Regions from separate parts of the Homo sapiens genome. Here regions 1 and 3 are each linked to region 2. The links are contacts of gene promoters, found by promoter capture Hi-C in blood cells and fetal thymus (Javierre and others, 2016). All regions are on one chromosome and are shown on one strand. The core of a region is centred on a gene start or on the middle of the fragment in contact, and the rest is flanking DNA. Distances in the headings are between cores, read along the strand shown. Region 1 overlaps PSKH1 (protein serine kinase H1). Region 2 holds the start of CARMIL2 (capping protein regulator and myosin 1 linker 2). Region 3 overlaps DUS2 (dihydrouridine synthase 2).

Region 1 (3,372 bases), core at 1-2,500, 280 kb after region 2:
GAGTGCAGTGGTGCGATCTTGGCTCACTGCAACCTCCGCCTCTCAGGTTCAAGCAATTCTCCTGCCTCAGCTTCCTGAGTAGCTGGGACTACAGGCACGCCACCACGCCCGACTAATTTTTGTATTTTTAGTAGAGACGGGGTTTCACCATGTTGGCCAGGATGGTCTTGATCTCATGACCTTGTGATCCACCTGCCTCAGCCTCCCAAAGTGCTGGGATTACAGGCATGAGCCACCACGCCTGGCCCTCAATATGAATCTTGAACTACACAAGCCCCCAGGAGACTTACCTGCCTGTCGGGGAGGGCTGTTGCTCTCTGCGCCCACCCACAGCCCTTGGATAGTAAGGCATCTATGGGCCTTCGTTGGCTGCATGCTCCTGGACCCTGACTTTCCTCCTCCTGGGGGCCAGCATCTCCCCAGGAGTCACTGGGTGCTGCTGGCCCACTGATGAGGATGACCCTGTTAGGTGTGTTTGGGAATATGGTTCCCCTGTTGCTCCCACTTCAGCTCAGTAAAACTTGGAATAACCTTCCAAAGAGTGGGTGAAGACAGCAGCTGCAGGTAGCCCCAGGCCTTCCTCAGGACGGTGGAAGCGTGTTCTCCCTGCCTCATCCCTCTGTGGCAGTGGGGAAGGGGGTAGGGAAAGAGTTGGAGGTCAGGCGAGCCAGACTGGGAGTAGCAGTAGTCAGTGAGTGTGTGTGTCTGCTAGATGGCTGTGCACCTGCCCTGAAGGTGGTCTCTCAGATCCTCCTGAACCCCCTGGAGGGCATGTTCAGGGGTTCCTCAAGGTGAAGGGTACCATGGGTGGTGAAGGGTACCATGGGTGGAACAGGCAGACCTCACCTGGCAGGAAGGAAAGTGAGGGGATCGTTAGCATCCCTGTTGAGTCATCTGCAGCAGGCTCAGGAAAGGTCCTAGCTGCCTATCCTTGGGGGAGCCTCAGAGCCCGTGCCAGAAGTGTTCCTAGGAGATGCAGGGACGCAAGGACTCACCTGGCTGAGCCCCAAGGCCTGGAAGCAGCTCCAGGAAAGGGCACCCATCCGGCAGCACCGTGGGTTGTTTACTGTCTGAGCCTGTGCCTACTGAGTGCTTCCTGTATGCGCAGCACCAGGCACGGGCTCATCCAGCTCAGCATGATCTCATGGGAATACTAAACGAACATGAAATTGCAGTCTCACGTTACAGCTGGAATAATTGCTGGAAGCACTGGGGGCTAAGAGGGAGTCTGAGCAAGTGTCCTTTACCCTGAGAACCTGAGGATCCAGTCAGGTGAAGACAGCCGTACAACCTGAGGCCCTGAGACAGACAGCTGCTGGGTTCGGGGCTGAGATGAGGCAGCCCGGGGTGCATGTGGCAGAGTGGGCTTTATGGAGTTCCTCCCAGGGGACAGAATGTACTAAAATGAGGCTGGCGCACAGCACTGCCAGGAGCCCTTTGTGGCTTAGAGAAGTAATGCGGGCCAGAGGGTGCCACTGAGAAGGGTCCTGGTTCCTTCCTGGTCCCGGGATCGCCTGCCCTCAGCCGACTGGGAAATCTAGTTGCCTTGAATTGTTTCCTTTCCTCCCCATGCCGGGAGGCAGAGGCAGGGAGCAGTGGTCTTCTGCCACTGCTTCGGCAGTTGGAGAGAGGTTGGATCTTCTCTGTAAGGACTAGGAAGTTCCCCTTTAAGTAGCCTGATCCTGGTCATCCAGAGATTGGAGCTTCAATCTGACTTAGGATGTGGTGGGAAAGTTTGAATCATTCTCTAACAGTCCCCTGAGTTATGATACTCCTGGGACAAGTTCGGGGGGGTCTTGGCAGAGGCCATCTCCCTGAGCCAGGCTTTGGGTCCAGTGCACCATAGAATTTGCTCCCTGGGAGAGTGCACAGGTCCTTTCCTTCCTTGCCAGACTCCATCACCTGGAGAGCAGCCCTTGTTCAGCCTGAGCCAGCGTTGGGCGGGGAGGCCCCAAGTGCTACATGAGAGGAGGGGCAGCACCTCTCTCTGGAAAGGGGAGGGTTGCTGAGTAGTGGCCTCATCCAGATGGGGTGGGCAGTGTCAGATGCTCTCACTCTAATGCTTGTCCTTGGTCTCTAGCCCTGGCCTAGTGTGTCCAACCTGGCCAAGGACTTCATTGACCGCCTGCTGACAGTGGACCCTGGAGCCCGTATGACTGCACTGCAGGCCCTGAGGCACCCGTGGGTGGTGAGCATGGCTGCCTCTTCATCCATGAAGAACCTGCACCGCTCCATATCCCAGAACCTCCTTAAACGTGCCTCCTCGCGCTGCCAGAGCACCAAATCTGCCCAGTCCACGCGTTCCAGCCGCTCCACACGCTCCAATAAGTCACGCCGTGTGCGGGAACGGGAGCTGCGGGAGCTCAACCTGCGCTACCAGCAGCAATACAATGGCTGAGCCGCCTGGCTGTGCACACATGCAGCACGACCCAGCCTGGCCACACACTGTGGTGCCATCTGGGTCCGATGCCCTCTCTGGAGATAGGCCTATGTGGCCCACAGTAGGTGAAGAATGTCTGGCTCCAGCCCTTTCTCTGTGCCTTCAGCAGCCCCTGTCCTCACCATGGGCCTGGGCCAGGTGTGACAGAGTAGAGGTAGCACAGGGGGCTGTGACTCCCCCTGAACTGGGAGCCTGGCCTGGCACTGATACCCCTCTTGGTGGGCAGCTGCTCTGGTGGAGTTGGGAAGGGATAGGACCTGGCCTTCACTGTCTCCCTTGCCCTTTGACTTTTCCCCAATCAAAGGGAACTGCAGTGCTGGGTGGAGTGTCCTGTGGCCTCAGGACCCTTTGGGACAGTTACTTCTGGGACCCCCTTTCCTCCACAGAGCCCTTCTCCCTGGTTTCACACATTCCCATGCATCCTGATCCTTAAGATTATGCTCCAGTGGGAGACCCTGGTAGGCACAAAGCTTGTGCCTTGACTGGACCCGTAGCCCCTGGCTAGGTCGAAACAGCCCTCCACCTCCCAGCCAAGATCTGTCTTCCTTCATGGTGCCTCCAGGGAGCCTTCCTGGTCCCAGGACCTCTGGTGGAGGGCCATGGCGTGGACCTTCACCCTTCTGGACTGTGTGGCCATGCTGGTCATCGGCTTGCCCAGGCTCCAGCCTCTCCAGATTCTGAGGGGTCTCAGCCCACCGCCCTTGGTGCCTTCTTTGTAGAGCCCACCGCTACCTCCCTCTCCCCGTTGGATGTCCATTCCATTCCCCAGGTGCCTCCTTCCCAACTGGGGGTGGTTAAAGGGAGCCCCACTGCTGCTACCTGGGGAATGGGGCACCTGGGGGCCAAGGCAGAGGGAAGGGGGTCCTCCCGATTAGGGTCGAGTGTCAGCCTGGGTTCTATCCTTTGGTGCAGCCCCATTGCCTTTTCCCTTC
Region 2 (3,019 bases), core at 392-2,891:
GAGGCAGGAGAATTGCTGGAACCTGGGAGGCGGAGGCTGCAGTGAACCAAGATCGCCCTACTGCACTCCAGCCTGGGCAACAAGAGCGAAGCTCTGTCTAAAATAATAATAATAATAATGATAATAATAATAATAATAATTAGCCCAGGCATGGTGGTGGGCACCTGTAATCCCAGCTACTCGGGAGACTGAGGCAGGAGAATTGCTGGAACCTGGGAGGCGGAGGCTGCAGTGAGCCAAGATTGTGCCACTGCACTCCAGCCTGGACCACAGAGCAAGACTCTATCTCAAAACCAACAAACAAACCAAGTATGTCTCTTCAATCGGGGAGGCAGCAGGAACTCTCTGTGCTGCATCTTCTGCAGCTGACTCCTCCTTGTCACCCTTAGCTGTCATTTCACCTCCACCTTGCTGAGCTATGGGCAGGGTAGACTGCTGTTCCTTACCGCTTAAGTGGAGTTTAGATTGTAATAGAAGAAAAAAAATGCAGTCTCTTCCTGTGAACTTTCCAGAATCTAGGTCCTGGTCTTTGAGAGGGCAACAGGCTACCAGGCCCCACCCTATGACTGTCTGACCCCTCTCAGCCCTGGAGACACTGGCTTATTTCTCTCTCTCTGGCTGCCCCCTCCCAAACTCTCTCCAGCCTGGGGAGAAGGCAGACACAAGAAGACCCTCATGTACCTGGACGACTCACTCCGGCCCTCTATGAAGTGCTTGGGGTTCAGGGCTCACCTTAGCCCCAGGCTTCCCCCCGAAGGCTCCGGGTACACCCTCACCTTCGGCCCTGACCCCACCTCTGCGGCAAGGAAGGGCGTCTGGACCCATCAGGCTGTTTTTTTTTTTTTTTTTTAGACAGGACCTGGCTTTGTCACCCAGGCTGGAGTACAGTGGTGCGATCTCCGCTCACTGCAAACTCTGCCTCCCAAGCTCAAGTGATCCTCCCACCTCAGCCTCCCAAGTAGCTAGGATTACAGACACACGCCATCACGCCGTCTAATTTTGTAAATTATTTTGCAGAGACAGGGTCTCCCTATGTTGCCCAGCTTGGTCTCGAACTCTTTGGCTCAAGCGTTCCTCCTTCCTCGGCCTTCCAAAGTGCTGGGATTACAGGCGTGAGCCACCGCGCCTGGCCCCATCTGACATTTTTTCCCACCCATTCAAAATCTCTTGGATCCCTAACAGGGTCACGGACTCCAGGTTCGGAGCAACGGGCAGGACCTCCGGTGTTGGCAGAATTCGGGCGCTCCTTGCTGAACAGTCCCCCTTCTGCCAGGCGCCTCGTCCACCTCCGCAGCCTGGGCTTTGGAGGGGACCAGCCCCGGTGGGCCGCGGGGATCCCCAGGCAGGCAGCGTCCCCTGGTGTTCGCGGCAGGGACTGCGGGGCGGGGTGGAAGCCGGGGGCAAGGACCCGCTGGAGGCCCGCCACACCCGCGACCCTCCCGGCCACGCCACTGCCCACCCCGACGTCTACCCTGGCGGAGAAGCTCCTGGGCGACGGGGCGGGCGGGCAGGTGGGACTCGGCCCCCCTCCCACAACCCCGCTCCCGGGCAAGCTCTCGAGCCGCGAGGCCGGGGCGGGGAGGGGCCGGGCCGGGGGCGGCCTGGCAGGAAGCGGCGCGCACCTTCCGCCGCCGGAGGAGCAGGTGGCTGCCGTGCGGGTCTGGGCCCCAGGCTTCCTGTGTGCGCGCTCGTCCTCTGCTGTTTCCCGCCGGAGCTCGTTGGGCCTCCCCGGCCCGCCCGGCCCATGGCCCAGACCCCCGACGGCATCTCCTGTGAGCTCCGAGGTAAGCGCTGGCCCTTCCTGCCTTCTTGGCCGGGAGGAAGTAGTGCAGCCCCAAAATCAGAGGCCCACCCAGCGCCCCAGAGGGCCTGGTCAGAGGTCCTCCCTGCTCCCCAGGAGGGCAGGCGCCCCAGATCCTCTCCCCTCCTTCCTCGCTGGCCGCAGATAAGCCCCAGGGCCCCAGCCTGGCACAGACTGTGGGCACCAGTGGCTTCTGTGCAAGGACTGAAGTCACCCAGCAGGCTGCCCTTCCACAGGCGAGATCACCAGGTTCCTGTGGCCCAAAGAGGTGGAGCTGCTGCTGAAAACCTGGCTACCCGGGGAGGGTGCTGTGCAAAACCATGTCCTGGTATGGGGCAGGGGACAGAGCCGGGGAGGCGGCTGTGGCCCCACAGAAAGAGCCTCTTGCTCTGCCCAGGATATCAGACTGTCTTTCCCCAGGCACTGCTACGATGGAGAGCCTACCTGCTGCACACCACCTGCCTCCCGCTGAGGGTGAGTCCCAGGGCCTGGCCACACCCCCGCCCGCCAGCAGCTACCTTGGCAGGGGGCTGCATCTGCAGAGTGGTCCTTCTTGGCCTTGTGGGCCCTGACTTTGCACCAGCACTGGGCTCTGGGCAGCCGACAGGAGGGGAGTCCAGGCAGATCTGGCTCTGCCCCAGGCTGCCCAAAGGACTGGACTTCCATGAGGGCGGGGCTGGGGGCTTGGTCCCAGCTGATCTAGGCCCTTTCTAGGTGGACTGCACGTTCAGCTACCTGGAGGTCCAGGCCATGGCGCTGCAGGAGACACCCCCTCAGGTGAGACACCTAGTACCCTACCTGGGCCTGCAGCCTGGTCTTCATGCTACCACCATCACCTGCGCCCATGTGTGGAGCCGAGGCCTAGTAGTGCCCCTTCCCTAGGTCACCTTTGAGCTGGAGTCCCTGCGTGAGCTGGTCCTGGAGTTTCCTGGTGTGGCCGCCCTGGAACAGCTGGCCCAGCACGTGGCTGCAGCCATCAAGAAGGTCTTCCCTCGCTCGACCCTTGGGTGAGGCCTGGCAAATTCGAGGGGCTGGCAGGGGAGGAGGGAGTGCATGAGAAGGGCTGCTTCCCATCCCAGAGGCTGGAAGTCCTTTGCCCCCTTCTCCTTAACCCCCTACCAGGAAGCTATTCCGGAGGCCCACACCAGCCTCCATGCTGGCTCGGCTGGAGAGAAGCAGCCCCTCGGAGTCCACTGACCCCTGCAGCCCCTGTGGTAA
Region 3 (3,049 bases), core at 105-2,604, 410 kb after region 2:
GATACTGAACCATTGACCCTGGGGTAAACAAAGGGTTAGGTTTGTGCAAGCCTCTGGTCATATTTTCATCAACTTGTCAGTCCATAACTTTGTTTTATGTGTGTTTCTTTGTTTTTGTTTGGTTTCTTTTTTGTGACCAGGTCTCACTCTGTTGCTCAGGCTGGAGTGTACTGGTGTGACCATAGCTCGCTGCAGCCTCAAACTCCTGGGCTCAAATGATCATCCTGCCTCAGCCTTCCAAGTAGCTGGGATTTCAGGTGCACACCTCCATGCCCAGCCAATTTTTAAATTTTTTGTAGAGATGGGGGTCTTGCTATGTTCCCCAGCTGGTCTCAAACTCCTGGCCTCAAGTGATCCCCCTGCCTCAGCCTCCCAAAATACTGGGATTACAGGACTTAGCCATCACACTGGCCATGTGTTTCTGTTTAAAGGCATATTATTTAATATATACCATTGATTCACTTAACATTGAACCCACTAACATGGGTAATAGTGCTATAATTTCATGCCGAAACAAAGCTTATTCAAGATGTGTATTTTCTCTGTAAGTCCCATGACCGTTTTCTTGTGCTTAGGAACATTAGATAGCATTTCAGCAGTATGGTTGGGACCATTTTATTTTATTTATTTTATATTTTTTGAGATGGAATCTTACTCTGTAGCCCAAGCTAGAGTGCAGTGGCGTGATCTTGGCTCACTGCAACCTCCGCCTTCCCGGCTCAAGAGATTCTTGTGCCTCAGCCTTCCAAGTAGTGGGGACTACAGGTGTGTGCCACCACACCCAGCTAATTTTTTTTTTTGTATTTTAGTAGAGACTTGAGTTTCACCATGTTGCCCAGGGTGGTCTCGAACTCCCTAACCTCAGGTAACCCACCCGCCTCGGCCTCCCAAAGTGCTGGGATTACAGGTGTGAGCCACCGCACCCAGCCACTTGGGACCATTTTAAACAGTGAGATCACCAACAAAAAGCATAGACATGCAGAAATGTGGCATGAAATATACCACAAAAGGGACACTTGTTGACAGTATGAGAGCTGAAGGGAGAAGACAGAGCATCACCTTGTTTGACCTCAGCTGGGAACATGCACATCAGGCAACTCAAAACTTTCACCACTCTGTTCCTGTCCTTGGATGACCATGAAAACATCACAAGTATTGATTTTGGGGTCACAAATAAATGTTAGCAAATAGGCACATTTGCAAATATGCAACTATGAATAGTATAGGAGATTGATTGTTATATAGTAACCTTCCACTCATAGCACCTGTCTCACTGTAAGTAAATAGTAAATTTGCTGAACTTCAGAGTGATGTTTTCTGGGAAAATTTGGGCCAAATCTGAAACATAGACAAACTTCCATGTATGGACTTTTTTTTTTTTTTTGAGACAGAGCCTCCCTCTGTTGCCCAGGCTGGAGTGCAGTGGCGCGATCTCAGCTCACTGCAATCTCTGCCTCCCAGGTTCAAGAGATTGTGCTGCCTCAGCCTCTTGAGTAGCTGGTATTACAGGCACCCTCCACCACGCCCAGCTAATTTTTGTATTTTTAGTAGAGATGCGGTTTTGCCATGTTGTGTAGGCTGGTTTCAAACTCCTAACCTCACATGATCCACCTGCCTTGGCCTTCCAAAGTCCTAGGATTACAAGCGTGAGCCACTGCGCCCGGCTATGTATGTACATTTTGTTTCAACATTTTTTTTTTTTTCGAGACGGAGTCTTGCTCTGTCGCCCAGGCTGGAGTGCAATGGCGCGATCTCGGCTCGCTGCAACCTCCGCCTCCCAGATTCAAGCGATTCTCCTGCCTCAGCCTCTCGAGTAGCTAGGGTTACAGGCATACCCCACCACGCCTGGCTAATTTTTGTATTCTTATCAGAGACGGTGTTTCACCATGTTGGCCAGGCTGGTCTTGAACTCTTGACCTCATGATCCGCCCGCCTCGGCCTCCCAAGGTGCTGGGATTACAGGCGTAAGCCACCATACCCGGCCCGGTTTTAACATTTTAAACGTTGCAAAATGTTAACCACCATTCAGAAAAAGTGCATTAAACACAAACATGCAGTTTCACAAGTAATTGCAAAATGAACAACCATCACCCAGGTCAGGAAATAGACCATCCTCATCATCACAGAAGCCTCCCATGTGCATAGTTATTTTTGGTAAGAATGGTATACATTTAGGATCTCTTTCCCCTTGAAGCTTATACTCTGGCTGTGTTTTCTTCCAGGGCTTAGGCTAGCGTTGAACTTGCATCTTCATTGAGTGACCCTATGTGTTTGGGTTTTCTTGCAGAGGTGCTCAGCACAGTGGACTTTGTCGCCCCTGATGATCGAGTTGTCTTCCGCACCTGTGAAAGAGAGCAGAACAGGGTGGTCTTCCAGATGGTGAGAGACTCCATTGCTGCATGCCCTCCTGAGGCTCACCATCCCCTGGGATTTCCCAACTCATGCCCTGTGCCAGGCCAGTGTTGAATACCTGGGGTACATTGTACAACGATGGCTTCCTGAAGATTCTGCTTTAATGTTTTCCAAAGAGCCAGTCATGAGTAATTATACTATTGGAGACAGTTTATGGAAATCAAGCTATCACAGTCTTATATGTCTCTAGTCTCAAATTTAATTTACTTACTTGTAGGAATTGTCTGTTTGGCATGATTTCTCTATTTTTTTATCCCTAGCATTGATTACTCAGATCATAGTCTTTGTTTTTATGTAGTGTGTATATATTTCTCATAGAAAAATATTAGGATTTTTCAAGAGTAGTTAAGATTTGTATTTGAGTTGTGATGACTCTATAGTGCCCTTCTCTCGCTTTGGGCATTTCTTGGTGCTTTTTCAGAAACATCCTTAATGATGTTTAGGTTTCTAAAAAATTGTTAACAATGGGTAACCATGTGATAAAGCAAATCTAGCAAAATGTTAATTGTAGAATCTAAATGGTGAGTGTTTGAATGGTCACTATAAGTTAACAATGGGTAACCATGTGATAAAGCAAATCTAGCAAAATGTTAATTGTAGAATCTAAATGGTGAGTGTTTGAATGGTCACTATAAAA

The links. The method cuts DNA at HindIII sites, captures the fragments that hold promoters and counts their contacts. A CHiCAGO score of 5 or more calls a contact.
Region 1: a fragment that was not itself captured here is called in contact with the fragment with the promoter of CARMIL2 in region 2 in 3 of 17 cell types (endothelial precursors, monocytes and fetal thymus); the score reaches 5.9 in endothelial precursors.
Region 3: a contact is called between a fragment that was not itself captured here and the fragment with the promoter of CARMIL2 in region 2, in 1 of 17 cell types (naive B cells). The highest score is 5.5, in naive B cells.

Annotation. Positions count from the first base shown.
Region 1 is chr16:67,925,245-67,928,616 of GRCh38, forward strand. It overlaps PSKH1 (protein serine kinase H1), which reads left to right. Exons shown (of 3, transcript NM_006742.3): 3 at 2,081-3,372. The coding sequence ends at 2,398. Among named protein-coding and RNA genes, the nearest start is that of CTRL, 4.9 kb to the right of the region's middle. RefSeq lists an enhancer at 1,728-2,229. The HindIII fragment of the contact is 3,315 bases long and covers 1-2,908 here.
Region 2 is chr16:67,643,503-67,646,521 of GRCh38, forward strand. CARMIL2 (capping protein regulator and myosin 1 linker 2) reads left to right here and starts at 1,642. Exons shown (of 38, transcript NM_001013838.3): 1 at 1,642-1,784; 2 at 2,038-2,129; 3 at 2,222-2,275; 4 at 2,516-2,578; 5 at 2,684-2,808; 6 at 2,924-3,015. The coding sequence starts at 1,745. RefSeq lists a silencer at 1,336-1,725. The HindIII fragment of the contact is 10,344 bases long and covers 1-3,019 here.
Region 3 is chr16:68,051,277-68,054,325 of GRCh38, forward strand. DUS2 (dihydrouridine synthase 2) reads left to right here. Exons shown (of 17, transcript NM_017803.5): 5 at 2,288-2,379. Among named protein-coding and RNA genes, the nearest start is that of DUS2, 30 kb to the left of the region's middle. The HindIII fragment of the contact is 1,675 bases long and covers 518-2,192 here.